Regions from separate parts of the Homo sapiens genome. Here all the other regions are linked to region 1. The links are contacts of gene promoters, found by promoter capture Hi-C in blood cells and fetal thymus (Javierre and others, 2016). All regions are on one chromosome and are shown on one strand. The core of a region is centred on a gene start or on the middle of the fragment in contact, and the rest is flanking DNA. Distances in the headings are between cores, read along the strand shown. Region 1 holds the start of TPR (translocated promoter region, nuclear basket protein). Region 2 holds the start of RNASEL (ribonuclease L). Region 3 overlaps DHX9 (DExH-box helicase 9). Region 4 overlaps DHX9 (DExH-box helicase 9).

Evidence for each region. Contacts are between HindIII fragments. The CHiCAGO score rates a contact against its expected background, and 5 or more counts as called.
Region 2: the fragment with the promoter of RNASEL here is called in contact with the fragment with the promoter of TPR in region 1 in 2 of 17 cell types (total CD8 T cells and total CD4 T cells); the score reaches 6.2 in total CD8 T cells.
Region 3: a fragment that was not itself captured here is called in contact with the fragment with the promoter of TPR in region 1 in 6 of 17 cell types (total CD4 T cells, monocytes, total CD8 T cells and 3 more); the score reaches 13.9 in total CD4 T cells.
Region 4: a contact is called between a fragment that was not itself captured here and the fragment with the promoter of TPR in region 1, in 4 of 17 cell types (total CD4 T cells, naive CD8 T cells, monocytes and 1 more). The highest score is 11.5, in total CD4 T cells.

Annotation. Positions count from the first base shown.
Region 1 is chr1:186,373,565-186,376,660 of GRCh38, reverse strand. TPR (translocated promoter region, nuclear basket protein) reads left to right here and starts at 1,408. Exons shown (of 51, transcript NM_003292.3): 1 at 1,408-1,783. The coding sequence starts at 1,633. ODR4 (odr-4 GPCR localization factor homolog) reads right to left here and starts at 823. Exons shown (of 14, transcript NM_017847.6): 1 at 687-823. RefSeq lists enhancers at 794-983, 1,154-1,203, 1,364-1,663 and a silencer at 2,224-2,273. The HindIII fragment of the contact is 6,872 bases long and covers 1-3,096 here.
Region 2 is chr1:182,587,824-182,590,919 of GRCh38, reverse strand. RNASEL (ribonuclease L) reads left to right here and starts at 1,664. Exons shown (of 7, transcript NM_021133.4): 1 at 1,664-1,753. RefSeq lists an enhancer at 1,789-1,948. The HindIII fragment of the contact is 1,344 bases long and covers 1,579-2,922 here.
Region 3 is chr1:182,850,338-182,853,433 of GRCh38, reverse strand. DHX9 (DExH-box helicase 9) reads right to left here. Exons shown (of 28, transcript NM_001357.5): 4 at 1,090-1,201; 5 at 16-128. Among named protein-coding and RNA genes, the nearest start is that of DHX9-AS1, 12 kb to the right of the region's middle. The HindIII fragment of the contact is 3,288 bases long and covers 1-3,096 here.
Region 4 is chr1:182,881,699-182,884,794 of GRCh38, reverse strand. It overlaps DHX9 (DExH-box helicase 9), which reads right to left. Exons shown (of 28, transcript NM_001357.5): 25 at 1,427-1,656; 26 at 1,160-1,275; 27 at 1-182. Among named protein-coding and RNA genes, the nearest start is that of DHX9-AS1, 44 kb to the right of the region's middle. The HindIII fragment of the contact is 962 bases long and covers 941-1,902 here.

The DNA of each region.
Region 1 (3,096 bases), core at 159-2,658:
CCGCTGTTGATTTATTTTTCCTTAGTTATTACAAAATATCATAAAATGCTTCCATTTATATTTCTTAGACGGCTTCACAACATGATTCAAAAGTAAGAACTAGAGAAAAAGAATAAATTTCATATAAGAACTAAATCACCAATTCACAGAAGGCCCACGACTGTGGGAACTGCAGAGAGACGACACTGGGAATGCATTATTTACAATGAATAATTTAACAAATTCTTTCATAAGAGTAAACACGAAACAATCTACGGATTGAGCTTTAAAACTACAGAATTATGATCTGGAACCATACAAGTTCTGTTACTGTAGAAATTAACAATGTGTTTAAAAACTTCAGTTACAACAGTTTTCAATTTTAAAAACAATATAATGTTAGGTAACCGTTTCTGCAACGAAAAATTTAAAACATAGGCTACACTCAAAGTGCTACCGGTTTCTTTTAATTCTCCTCCTGAAGAATTAACCCGGGTCCTTAAATTCCCGGGTACTGAATCACTCAGTGCCACCTCCCCACCACCAAAAACCATTTAGGTACGCCGTTTCACACAAGGTAAGTTCGTCAGAAGTGTGTGCCGGAGTGACTGTCCATATGGTTCCAACACTGTCCCTTCCTTTTTCTCTTGAAAAGAGAGCACACACACACACACACACACACACACACTACACTTAGGCTGACTTACCTGTTTTCAGAATGTGCACTCGTGGCAGACAATTACCTCGGACGGTCTCTCCGCCGGAGATGGGGGTTTCGGGCCCAAGTACCAGCCTCTAGGGGCCAGATTCCCTCCGGTCTCAATTCACTGCCACTGAATTCATCAGAAAGCGACCTACTTCCCACACCTCACTTCCCACTCCAAAGCCAGGGACTTGGGAGTCAGGTGGCGCAGATTGATGACGTAAAAGCCCCCCCTCCCTTCCCCGCAGAGCCTCAGCCAAAGCGACTGCGGTCGCCACCCCGCCCCCTTCTGGGCGCCATAGAGAGCGTGGCGGTATCCCGGAGCCTGCCGTCCGGCCCTACCGGGACCGATGCCCTCTAGTGGCTCAGTGTCCAGAAGCCGCCAACGAGGACGATCCATGGCATCCCGGGGCTTTGACGGTAAGGTCACCAGCTCTTCAGGGAGGGCCAAGGGGTGACGAGTACGTATGTGGCGCCACCGTGCGGACAGCGGTTACGGGGCCGAGATAGGAGAGCCAGGGGAGCGGGGAGAAAAACGGAAGCTGAGAGGGCGGTGCAGCATTGGGCTCCCGGAAAAGAATGAGAAAAACACTACATTTCCCAGAGCCCTACAAGGCCTGAAGTGGGTGGAGCTGGAAGCCGGAAAATTGGGTGCGCAAGAGGATCAGGGATAGCCTCTGAGCTCGGGTTCCCAGGGTTCGTAGCTTCCAACGGCTGCGCGCGCACTTCGGTCGCGGGCGGTGAGGTGCTGTTGCTGAAACGCTGCCGCTGAGGGTGGACTCGATTTCCCAGGGTCCCGCCGCGGGAGTCTCCGGCGGGCGGGCGCGCGCGAGCCACCGAGCGAGGTGATAGAGGCGGCGGCCCAGGCGTCTGGGTCCTGCTGGTCTTCGCCTTTCTTCTCCGCTTCTACCCCGTCGGCCGCTGCCACTGGGGTCCCTGGCCCCACCGACATGGCGGCGGTGTTGCAGCAAGTCCTGGAGCGCACGGAGCTGAACAAGCTGCCCAAGTCTGTCCAGAACAAACTTGAAAAGTTCCTTGCTGATCAGCAATCCGAGATCGATGGCCTGAAGGGGCGGCATGAGAAATTTAAGGTGGAGAGCGGTAAGTGAGATGCTCTTTCCGTCCTTGGTTTTGGGCTCGACTCCCGCCCTTTGGGTCTGGTCTTCCCCCATCAAGTTGGCACTGGGTACCGCTCTGTTAACCTCACTTCCTGGGCTCTGTGGATATCCTGAGCCTTCGCTTTCCTGCTCCTTACAGTTTGATAAGAAGCCTTTGAAAAAAAAATCTGAATCTAAGTTCAGTAGCATTTTCTTTGTAGTTAGGGTAGGCTCATACAGGGACGCTTATTTTCCTTCGTCCGGCAGACGGGAAACAGACTTGATAGAGTCTGCGAACCCATCTCTCTAAGCCTAGAGTACCTTATATGTTTTGTTGCACTTCAACTGATAGTGGCTCCGCCCTATTTTCTAGGCACCTGCATTCTAGGCCTTTGCCAAATTGACCACTCTGTGCACTTGTTCTTAGTGTGTGCGTCGTCCCGTGGCTCCAGAACGAATCAGATGTTTACAAAAATGAATATTAGGTGCATAAGAGCGCTGGAAACACAGTGAATGTGCAGTACATAAATTTAATATATCTTGATTTCTCTTAAAAAGTTGGAGTTTGATAGAAAACATTAAAATTTTCTTGTAATTACCTAAAGTAGGCCTTTAAGTAAGAAAGTTACTGACAATAATGGCTTGAACATCCTTGAAAAAAATATGAAGAATATAGTCATTACCATTAGTAAAATACAAACTTCCCGTTAATGTGTTTTGGTTTACCATTTGTTTGGGGAGGTTCATACTGTTCTTGCTAAGTTGACTGGAAATTCTGAACAAGTTTTTACTTCAAAAAAAGTGTAACTGTCAAGCAGAATTGACCTTGAAAATTAGTTCTCTGATCCCAGAGCTGAGTATAGTACATTGCATTCTATTTATTAATTTGCACCATAAATATTGAATGTCTTACATGTTCCTGATACTATGCTGAACATGATATTCAATCCCTTCCCTTGGAAAGTTTACACATTTACTTTTACATATATTTAGTAGTTTTATGCTTTCAGGTAATATCTTGACTACTATAAAAGAAGTCTTTTAAAACAAAGGAGTTTTTTTTTGTCTAAACAATTTTTTCTCGTGTAATAAATACTTTATTTATTAAGCAGTTTACTGATGTCTGGAGAAAATACTAAGATAAATGAGGTTACCTGCCTTGAAGACATTGATTTGTAAAGCCCCTTTTAGGCCTTATTTTTATTTTTTATTTTTTGTCATGTAAGTCGTTTGGAAATGCTTTAAGTCCTTTTCAGTGCTCAGTCTATTTATCTTTACTCAGATTCTCTTATGTGGAGCACAATTCTAATACTGTAT
Region 2 (3,096 bases), core at 415-2,914, 3.8 Mb after region 1:
TATTATAACCTGAAATCATGATATGTTGGGTTTTTCAACTGTTTATGATCTATTTCTGCCTATTAAGATGCAAGCTCCTAGAAGAACTCTGTGAGGAACTGGTGTGGTAAATCATTCTATGCCAGATATGCAGAATAGTCACTGGTAACATAGTCAGTGCTCAATAAGTTTTTTTTTTTTTTTTGAGACGGAGTCTTGCTCTGTCATCCAGGCTGGAGTGTAGTGGTACTATGTTGGCTCACTTCAACCTCCACCTCCCGGGTTCGAGCAATTCTCCTGCCTCAGCCTCCCGAGTAGCTGGGATTACAGGTGCACAACACCACACCTGGCTACTTTTTGTATTTTTAGTAGAGACGCGGTTTCACCATGTTGGCCAGGCTGGTCTTGAACTCCTGAACTCAGGTGATCTGCCTGCCTTGGCCTCCCAAAGTGCTGGGATTACAGGTGTGAGCCACCACGCCTGTCCAACAAGTATTAATTAAATGAATAATGGGTTAAGGATTTTTGAACTTTGTCCTGAAAATGATGGTGGGTCAATGATGCAGGGTGGAACAATGGATGAAGGGCTAGGAAGCAAGTCATCAATTTCTTGCTATAAATGATGACAAGGACTCGAATGGTCATCCCTTTGTAGATGAAAGCAAGAGACTTGGTGTTGGGATGAGGATGAGGGGTGGCCTCCGGGTGATGGTGCCATCTGTGGAGATGGAATAAGTGGGAGGAGGGGCAGATTTAGGAAAAGATGAGTATTTCCATTTGACACATATTCAAGATTTGTAGGTCTAAAGCTCAGCAGAGAGGCTGGGGTTAGAGAGCGAGGCCTGGGAATCCCTGGTGTATAAGGGGTGGTAGAGGCCCCGGGTCTGGATGGTGTGACACAGGTGGTCGTCAAGTGACCATGCACTACTTGTTGTTCACAAGTCCCAGGGCTTTGTCTCCCCAGCAAGACTGGGTATTCTTTGGGGATGGAAATACTTTCCACTACAGCACTAAGTACACAGTACACAGCTCATTGCTAGGAAGATAGTCAAGAACAGAACTTGTAGAGCAGAAAGGAACCTTCAAAACCAAGTTATAGGAGAGAACTGAGGCCCTACATGGTTAAATCACATGCCTGAGGTCACTCAGCTAAGCAGCCACAGAGCTGGCTGTAGGATCAGGTCTCCAGACTGCCAGTCCGGTACCCTTCTGAGAAGGCCGCACTGCCTCAGAGCTGTGAGTTGAGTGAGCTGAGAAAGGTGACAGGGCTTGGGCTTTGGGCTTACTTAGCTTCTATGAGCCTGCGTTTCATAATCAACAAGATTGTCAGGGGTTAACTGGGACCATGCTGCATGTAAAGCATTGTGTCTGGAACACAATAGGTGCTCAATATGTGTTTACTTTCCATTCCTTTCTTCCAAGAAGACCAGAATTTGCAATGACAAAGAAAGGATGCAAGAGTGATGGATGCAGTTGGCTGCTGCCACCTGAAAGGCTGCAAGACTGAGAGGTGAGTGACATGACCCCGGGCATCACATTCCTCATCAGCAGACAGAAAGTGGCTATTGCTTTCCTCCAGAAGGTGTGCAAGTAGAAGCTTTGCTCCTGGTGCCAGAGTGAGCCTGTGGCTGCTTTCCCTCCCACACTCCTCACTCCTTTCTTGGCTCCGCCCTGCTGACTCAGTGACGCAGCAGGAGGAAACTGCTCGGGCTGCAAGCAGTCTTCCAGGCTTTGCGGCTGCCAAAGGAATAATTGAGACGTCTGAGTTGAGCAGGTAAGGCAGGCAGAAGGAGGAAAGCTAGAAAACCTCGATAAGTCGATCCTGAAGAATTCTTGGGCTTTGGAGACTGGAGAGGCCAGGGGCTGGAGGACTTGGGAAGTGGGAGGGGAGCTCCCAGCCCTTGGCTGCCCGGAAGGATCTTCCTCCAGTGCCCTTCCAGAGTTCTGTCAGAGTCCACACGTCATTTATCCATGTCCTCAGTTTCTCAGGCATCTCTTTGCGACTTACTCAGGTCGCACAGAGAAAGTGAAATTGAAAGCAGGATTGTCTGTTGGAGTACTTCCGCAGGCTCGTCTCTTCTCTACTCTGATGCGTCACTCAGGGCTTCCTTGATATTTCCTCTCCTTCCCGGCTCCTTTGTTTATACCAGCCCACCTCACATCTGATTGTAATGGGGACGGTCTACACAAACACTTTGGTTCAAAGATTTCATTGCCTGGTGATCGTGTATGTGTTGCACAATTAATTAAACTTCTAAGAGGCTAATCAATTAACCTCTGAGGCTTTGAAACTGTCAGAGTGGTGAGATTGCTGAAAAAGGGTTGCTTCGTGAATTCTATAGCAGATGCAGTTATTTAAATATTCAGGTAACAGTTTCGGGCTGTCTGATGATTGAACTGGATCTGTAATTCTCAGATCTGATTGACAGTTGGACGAAATTGATAGCTGCCAGTTGCCTATTCGTGTAGTAGCTATATGCACATGTGTAGGGAGAATAGAATTCACTAAGCAATTTATTTTTTCATAACGGGATATAATTAGCTCTAACATTCATTGAGTGGCTAATATTTGCAACACTCCATACTTTAATGTACTTTACACACATGACTGTATTTATTTTTGTCTCCATTTCAGGAAATAGAAAATTGAGATTCAACAATCCAAGGTTACAGGAAGTAATAGTAAAAAATTACACAGCCACAAGCTCAAACTTAGATCTCCCTAAGGTCAGAGTACAAGCTCTTTTCACTACTGCAGATACTCCTTGACTTATGATGGGGTTACATACAGATAAACCCATCCTAAATTGAAAATATTGTAGGTCAAAAGCACATTTAATACACCTAATCTACTGAACGTCATAGCTTATCCTAGCTTACCTTAAATGTGCTCAGAACACTTACATTAGGCTACAGTTGGGCAAAATCATCTAGCTCAAAGCTTATTTTATAATAAAGTGTTAAATGTCTCATGTATTTATCGAATGCTATGCTGAAATAAAAAACAGAATGGTTGTATGTGTACTTGAAGTGTGGTTTCTACTGAATGTTTATTGCTTTTCCACCACTGCAAAGTCAAAAAATCATAAATCAAAGTCAAAAAACATAAGTCAGATA
Region 3 (3,096 bases), core at 349-2,848, 3.5 Mb after region 1:
CGGTGCTGGCCTTACCGCTTGCACTTCTTGTTCTTCCTTTCTTGAGTAGTAATCCTTCAAGTTGGCTCCTCGGTCCCAGGTGGGCCCAGGAACACCATAGCCAGAGGCCCCTACCTCAGAATTATTTTCTGTTAAAAGAAAAAAAATTCTCTTAATGAGTCATAACTGTAGAAAAATCCTAAATACATTAAAGAATTATCCTAATTTATGGCCGGGCATGGAGGCTCACATCTGTAATCCCAGCACTTCCGGACGCTGAGGTGGGTATCACGTGTGGTCAGGAGTTTGAGACCAGCCTGGTCAACATAGTGAAACCCCGTCTCTACTAAAAATACAAAAATTAGCCGGGCATGGTGGCATATGCCTGTAATCCCAGCTACTAGAGAGGCTGAGGTGAGAGAATCACTTGAACCTGGGAGGTGGAGGTTGCAGTGAGCCAAGATTGCACCACTGCACTCCAGTCTGGGTGACAGAGCAAGACTCTGCCTCAAAAAGCAATCATATGAAGTAGATACTACTGCTATTCAATAAACAGTAAATATGAGACTTAAGCAATATGACCCAAATCCTAATCTACCATATGGTAGACATCCCAATAAAAGCTGTGACTATACAGTAAATCCTCAATTAATGTCGCTGCTAGGTTCTTGGAAACGAAGACTATAAGCAATGTTGTAAGATAATAACATTGAAGGAAACAAAGTTATTCAAGGACCTACTGTAAGTCATTCTGCAATGGCCTGGATCCACAGGGTAAACAAACAAGTCAACAATATATTTAGTAAGAATAAGGAACAAGAAAAGGCAATTCATAAGATTCTTTCACCAAATATTCTAGCCTGTGGAAAACCTATTTATTCAGAGAAAAATGTAGTAAAAGCCAATGACAGCAAAGAACTATGCTGTACCACATGTTCTAAGAAAAAAATAAATGATCTGGTAATATGTGCAAATTTATGAAGGCCTTGGGTTGTCTCTTAACATCAAGAGTTTACTGCAGTTCTTTCTACCCAAAACGAGAAACAGAGATGGTGATCAAGATTGTGTATATCTTATTCTCCACCACGTGCATGGATTCAAGTCCCTTACCTGCTTTGAGAGCCAGATGTGGAGGAAGAGGTCCTCCCATGGTTGTTGGTAAATCTCCTTCAGCATTTGCTGTAGTGTCAGGAGTATCAGTAAGTGGGGGCGGAGATGCTACCTGCAAAAGAAAAAGTCAAGGCAGCTGTCAGTGCTTTTGCCTTCACGGGGACTAGTAAATTCTTTTAATACTTAAAAGGACCCATGTGTCATACCTCCTTTCTTTGTAATATTACCATCTTTGTTTAGAGGTTAAGTCTCTAGAGCAGTGCATCTCAAAATGTCTGCAATGAAGAACTGGTTGTTTCCCCTAATCCACTGGGAACAACCTGTCACAATACTGTATTTCTAAATGTTTACTCATTTCTGTACTTACCTCCTCACAAACTGTAACATTTTGAGTAACACTGCTCTGGGGCTCATTTTTAGTAGTGTTTACTACCTTAACACCTTTTAAAGCAGTCAAAAAAGTATCTTTCTACTCCATTTCTTAAGTATTTTATTGGTCATTAGTGTTTAATTTTATCAAATACTTTTTCAAAAGCCTTTATTAAGATGATCACGGAATAGATATTTTTCTCTTATAAGATCATTAGTACTACGTATTAAGAAAGTTTAATTACAGGGTTTTGCCTCAGATGTGCTGTTACATAAAATATATTGGTTTTCTAAACTAAGGAAAATTCTGAATTCTTAAACCCATCTAACCACATGGGTTTTAGGATGAAGAACTGAGATCTATACAACCTTTTCCTTAACTAGATGGGATGAACTATTTCTGTTTGCAAAGAACATTTAAAAATTTGACTTATTTTTACTTTCTAATTCAGCAATTTCTGATTTTATCGCTATTAATTTCTCCTGTTTCATTCTGAGATGAAAGCTAATTCATTCAAAAAGCTGTTTTTTGTGCAATAGTATAACTATTATTATTTTGAATAAATGATTGTTCCTCTGACCACTCCAGAGTTTTGCCAGACACTTATCTAAATAGTCTATGATCATAATTTAAAATTTTCACTTAGATCTAAATTCAAATTTCCAATTGTCTCTTAGGGTTTTTTGGGCGCTTTGTTACTTTTTCACATTACCACTTTGCTTCTGCCAATATATATAGCAACATGTCTAATGTTGTGTTATTAGTACATTGTGAATTTTTTTCTTTTCTGCTTTCTTCTAGAGAGCTTATACCTTGAAGGATAGTGTTCCTCCAAGGTTGGGGTTATGGAGACAAAGTAGAACCTATTCAAGGGTCAGCCCTAATAACCAAGGCACAGGAAAAATTCACTGGGCAGTCCTGGCACCACAATGCTAACTTGTCCTCCTCTTTCTACCACCTTGCCACTCCAGGACCTCAAATTCCCCTCCACCTCACTCTCTATCTACACCAACCTAAAAGAAAATTCCTAACGTATGAGAATTGAGGTGTCTGATGTAACTTCTATTTTCCAGTGATGGGGAGGATTTCCTTTTTTAACATTTCAAAATCAATTAAAATAGGTGAGGTATAAGAGTATTGAAAGTGTCACAGTGCATAATCTTGGCTCTGCCTAAGGAAGAGTCAGCAATGTGAGAAAATACTTTTTCAAGTAGGTTATAAAATAGTATACACAATATATATTTTATCACATTAAAATACACATGTAACTATCTAAACAAAAATACACAGATTTTAGCAACATTGGCAATGCTATAGTCCATTTATTTCTTTTTCTATTCTCACAATCTGTTCCCATTTAAAACCTTTTTTTTTTTTTTTGAGACAGGGTCTCACTGCATCACCCAGGCTGGAGTGCAATGGTGCAATGACAGATCACTGCAGCCCCAACCTGTTGGGCTCAAGTGATCCTCCCACTTCAGCCTCTCGAGTAGATGGGACTACGGGCAGCCACCACCATTCCCACCTAATATTTCTATTTTATTTTTGTAGAGATGGGGTCTATGTTGCTGAGGCTGGTCTTGAACTTCTGGACTCAAGAGATCCTCCTGCCTCTATCTCCCGAAGTGTTGGTATTA
Region 4 (3,096 bases), core at 172-2,671, 3.5 Mb after region 1:
GGTTGATACCAGCAGCTGAGGGTCTAGAGATCTGACGGATCATGTTCAGCATACGTTCATTTACGGGGTCCAACTGGCTGATGATAGCAGGTTGTTTGGTTACTTCAACAACCAAAGCCTCCATGGCTGCCCGGAGACCAGTGATACAGGCAGCAGCTTCATGAGATATTTGCAGTTTAATCCTAAAGTGGCGAAATACATTAAAAATAAGAGAGGGAGTATATGTAGAAAAAGACCATTATCTCTCAACTTCACACATGGCACATTATAGAATAAATTTAACTTCTTAAGCATTAATATTAAAAAAAAAAACTACTTATAATGGCCCCAAACTTAGGCAAACACAGATATGAAGAGTAGTTATAATCAGCACTAGCTTCTTAAAATTCACTGCTAGCTATGAGCAGGAGTCTTAAGCCAAAAAGTCTATCAAGCCAAATAAAATATAATAAAAATATATGCAATATATAATAAACAAAAAACAAAGTCCAGCAATATGGATCATTCAGACTTTCTTTTTTTTTGAGACAGAGTCTTGCTCTGTTGCCCTCGCTGGAGTGCAGTGGCGTGATAGCTCATTGCAACCTCCAACTCCCAGGTTCAAGTGATTCTCCTGCCTCAGCCTCCAGAATAGCTGGGACTACAGGTGTGCGCTACCACACGGGGCTAATTTTTTTGGATTTTTCGTAGAGACAGGTTTCACCATGTTGTCCAGGCTGATCTTGAACTTCCTGAGCCCAAGTGATGTGCCGCACCCAGCCAGATCATCCAGACTTTAAAATAATGAATTTAAGAGACCCAGAATACTGGCATTTTCTAGGTTTTCAAGAATATGATGGCTGAGCCTACTGGCTGTCCATTAAGCTCTATTCCATTTTTGCCCAGTGCTTACCACTAGTTTTGAATCAATATACAGAGTATGTGAAAGGGTACTCAAGCTTCACTTAGATTCTGATTCCATAGTGGTGGTGTGCCTAGTGGTAGACATGGCTCAAATTCCTAATGCATTTGCTTCTACTGGTATCAATTTAAGATTAAGTATATAGTATATAATTAAGTTAGATATAATTAGTATATAATTAAGTTAGATTAGCAGCTGAATTCCATCATATTGTAATTCTAAGAATTCAGTTTGGAGTTCACATCTGAAAATCCATACCAGTCATCTACAAGCACAATCTGCCCATCAGATTGGACTTTCTTGGAGGCAAAGAGAAGCAACTGCAGGGGGGTGACTAAAGTCATGCCTTTAGCAGAGATGGCTCGAGTTCGAATCTGCAAATGGAGAAAGAGACAATACAAAATGGTTGACATTCCAACTTCCAAATACCGCTATATACTGTGCTTTGAAAATCAAAATTCATGTTCCTAATGATTGTAAAGACAATTTCAACTTTCAATGTAAACTTTTCTAGTCTTTTCTTACCTTTTCACCAAATACAAAGAAGGGAGATGGGTACTTCATGTCTTGGCTACTAAAAGGACAATTAACAGATGATTTGTGGATAAGTGCATTACGCCCTTCAGTGGTGAGAATCTTCCTCTTTTCCTTATGATAGCATACATTGGGGTACACACCAAAGGCCAGGAGGGAGATAACAACATCCAAATTATTATCTGGTCCAGTGTTAGTAAACACTTGTGTCAACAAACAATCTGTTAAGAGGAGCACAGTGAAAACAAAAATCAGATAACTGGCTGATCTTCACATTACATGCAAACTATTTAAGATAATTCAGAGAACTGACTCTTCCTCACTCTTTTCACATAACCTGTCTGTAAAACTTTCTCTTCTCAGAATCCTTACACCCAGATTAAGTTCAAGGAGTAATGTTACTGAGTTTCCACAATAAGAAAACGAAAACGTCTCTATTCTCTTATAGACTCAACCATAAATAAGCTTGGGGTGATTACTTTTTTTTTTTTTTTTTGAGACGAGTCTCGCTCTGTCGCCCAGGCTGGAGTGCAGTGGCGCCATCTCTGCTCACTGCAAGCTCTGCCTCCCGGGTTCATGCCATTCTCCTGCCTCAGCCTCCCAAGTAGCTGGGACTACAGGCACCCGCCACCACGCCCGGCTAATTTTTTGTAGTTTTAGTAGAGACGGGTTTCACCGTGTTAGCCAGGATGGTCTCGATCTCCTGACCTCGTGATCCACCTGACTCGGCCTCCCAAAGCGCTGGGATTACAGGTGTGAGCCACTGCGCCCGGCCGGGGTGATTACTTTTTAAAGTCCCCCAATCAACCATCTACTCTGAGAATAAGAGCTTGACTGATAGGACCACAAAGTATTTATCTGCTACTCTTAAATAGCTGTTAGTTGTAGAGAAGATGGAGATAATCTAAGAGGACACCTACTGGAATGAAGGCTGACGTTTTTACCCAGTCTACACTTTGAGTACTTAGCTACTGACTGGAAAGCATGACAGTCAACCGCTGAAAGCACAGACATATTTTGTTCTAGACAAACGAGTTCTAGTCTTATAGCCTCCTAATTGGATGAATTAAAGACAATTTATACCTTGGTGCCTGTTTCATTACCTGTAAAATTCATCTCAAGATTCTAGCACATGAAGTTTTCCCTTTCTTATAATTTTGAGGAAAAACTAAAATTTCGGCTGGCTTATGACAGAAGAGAACCACTCACTACTTTGTTTAGTTATTCCAATTACAGCCTTTAAAAATTTACCATCTTGCCCAACTACCTTCTGTCTCTCAACAGTCTTATTTCTGGTTATGCATTCCAGTTCTCAATGTTTTAGGAAGTAATTCTATATTTTAACCTAGTTGGAAAAGAAAAGTACTACAGCTCATCAAGAAACATGGGTTGGTTTTTTTCTATGTTAGATGTCATAAAGTCCTTTAATCATCTGTACACCGAAAGTATAAATTAAAGTCATTTAAAATTTAATGTGGTAGAATTTACTTCAAGTCTAAATGCTAATAAATTACTTTGCAAACCACTATAAGGTTATCAGCAAAGTACTCATTCTGGGAACTAGACCAGTGTTCACGAGAACTAAGAAATAGTCGGGAATATATAAAAATCATAGGGTCTAAAATTTGAAACTAAAATACACTTTGCTGTCAATTTGCATG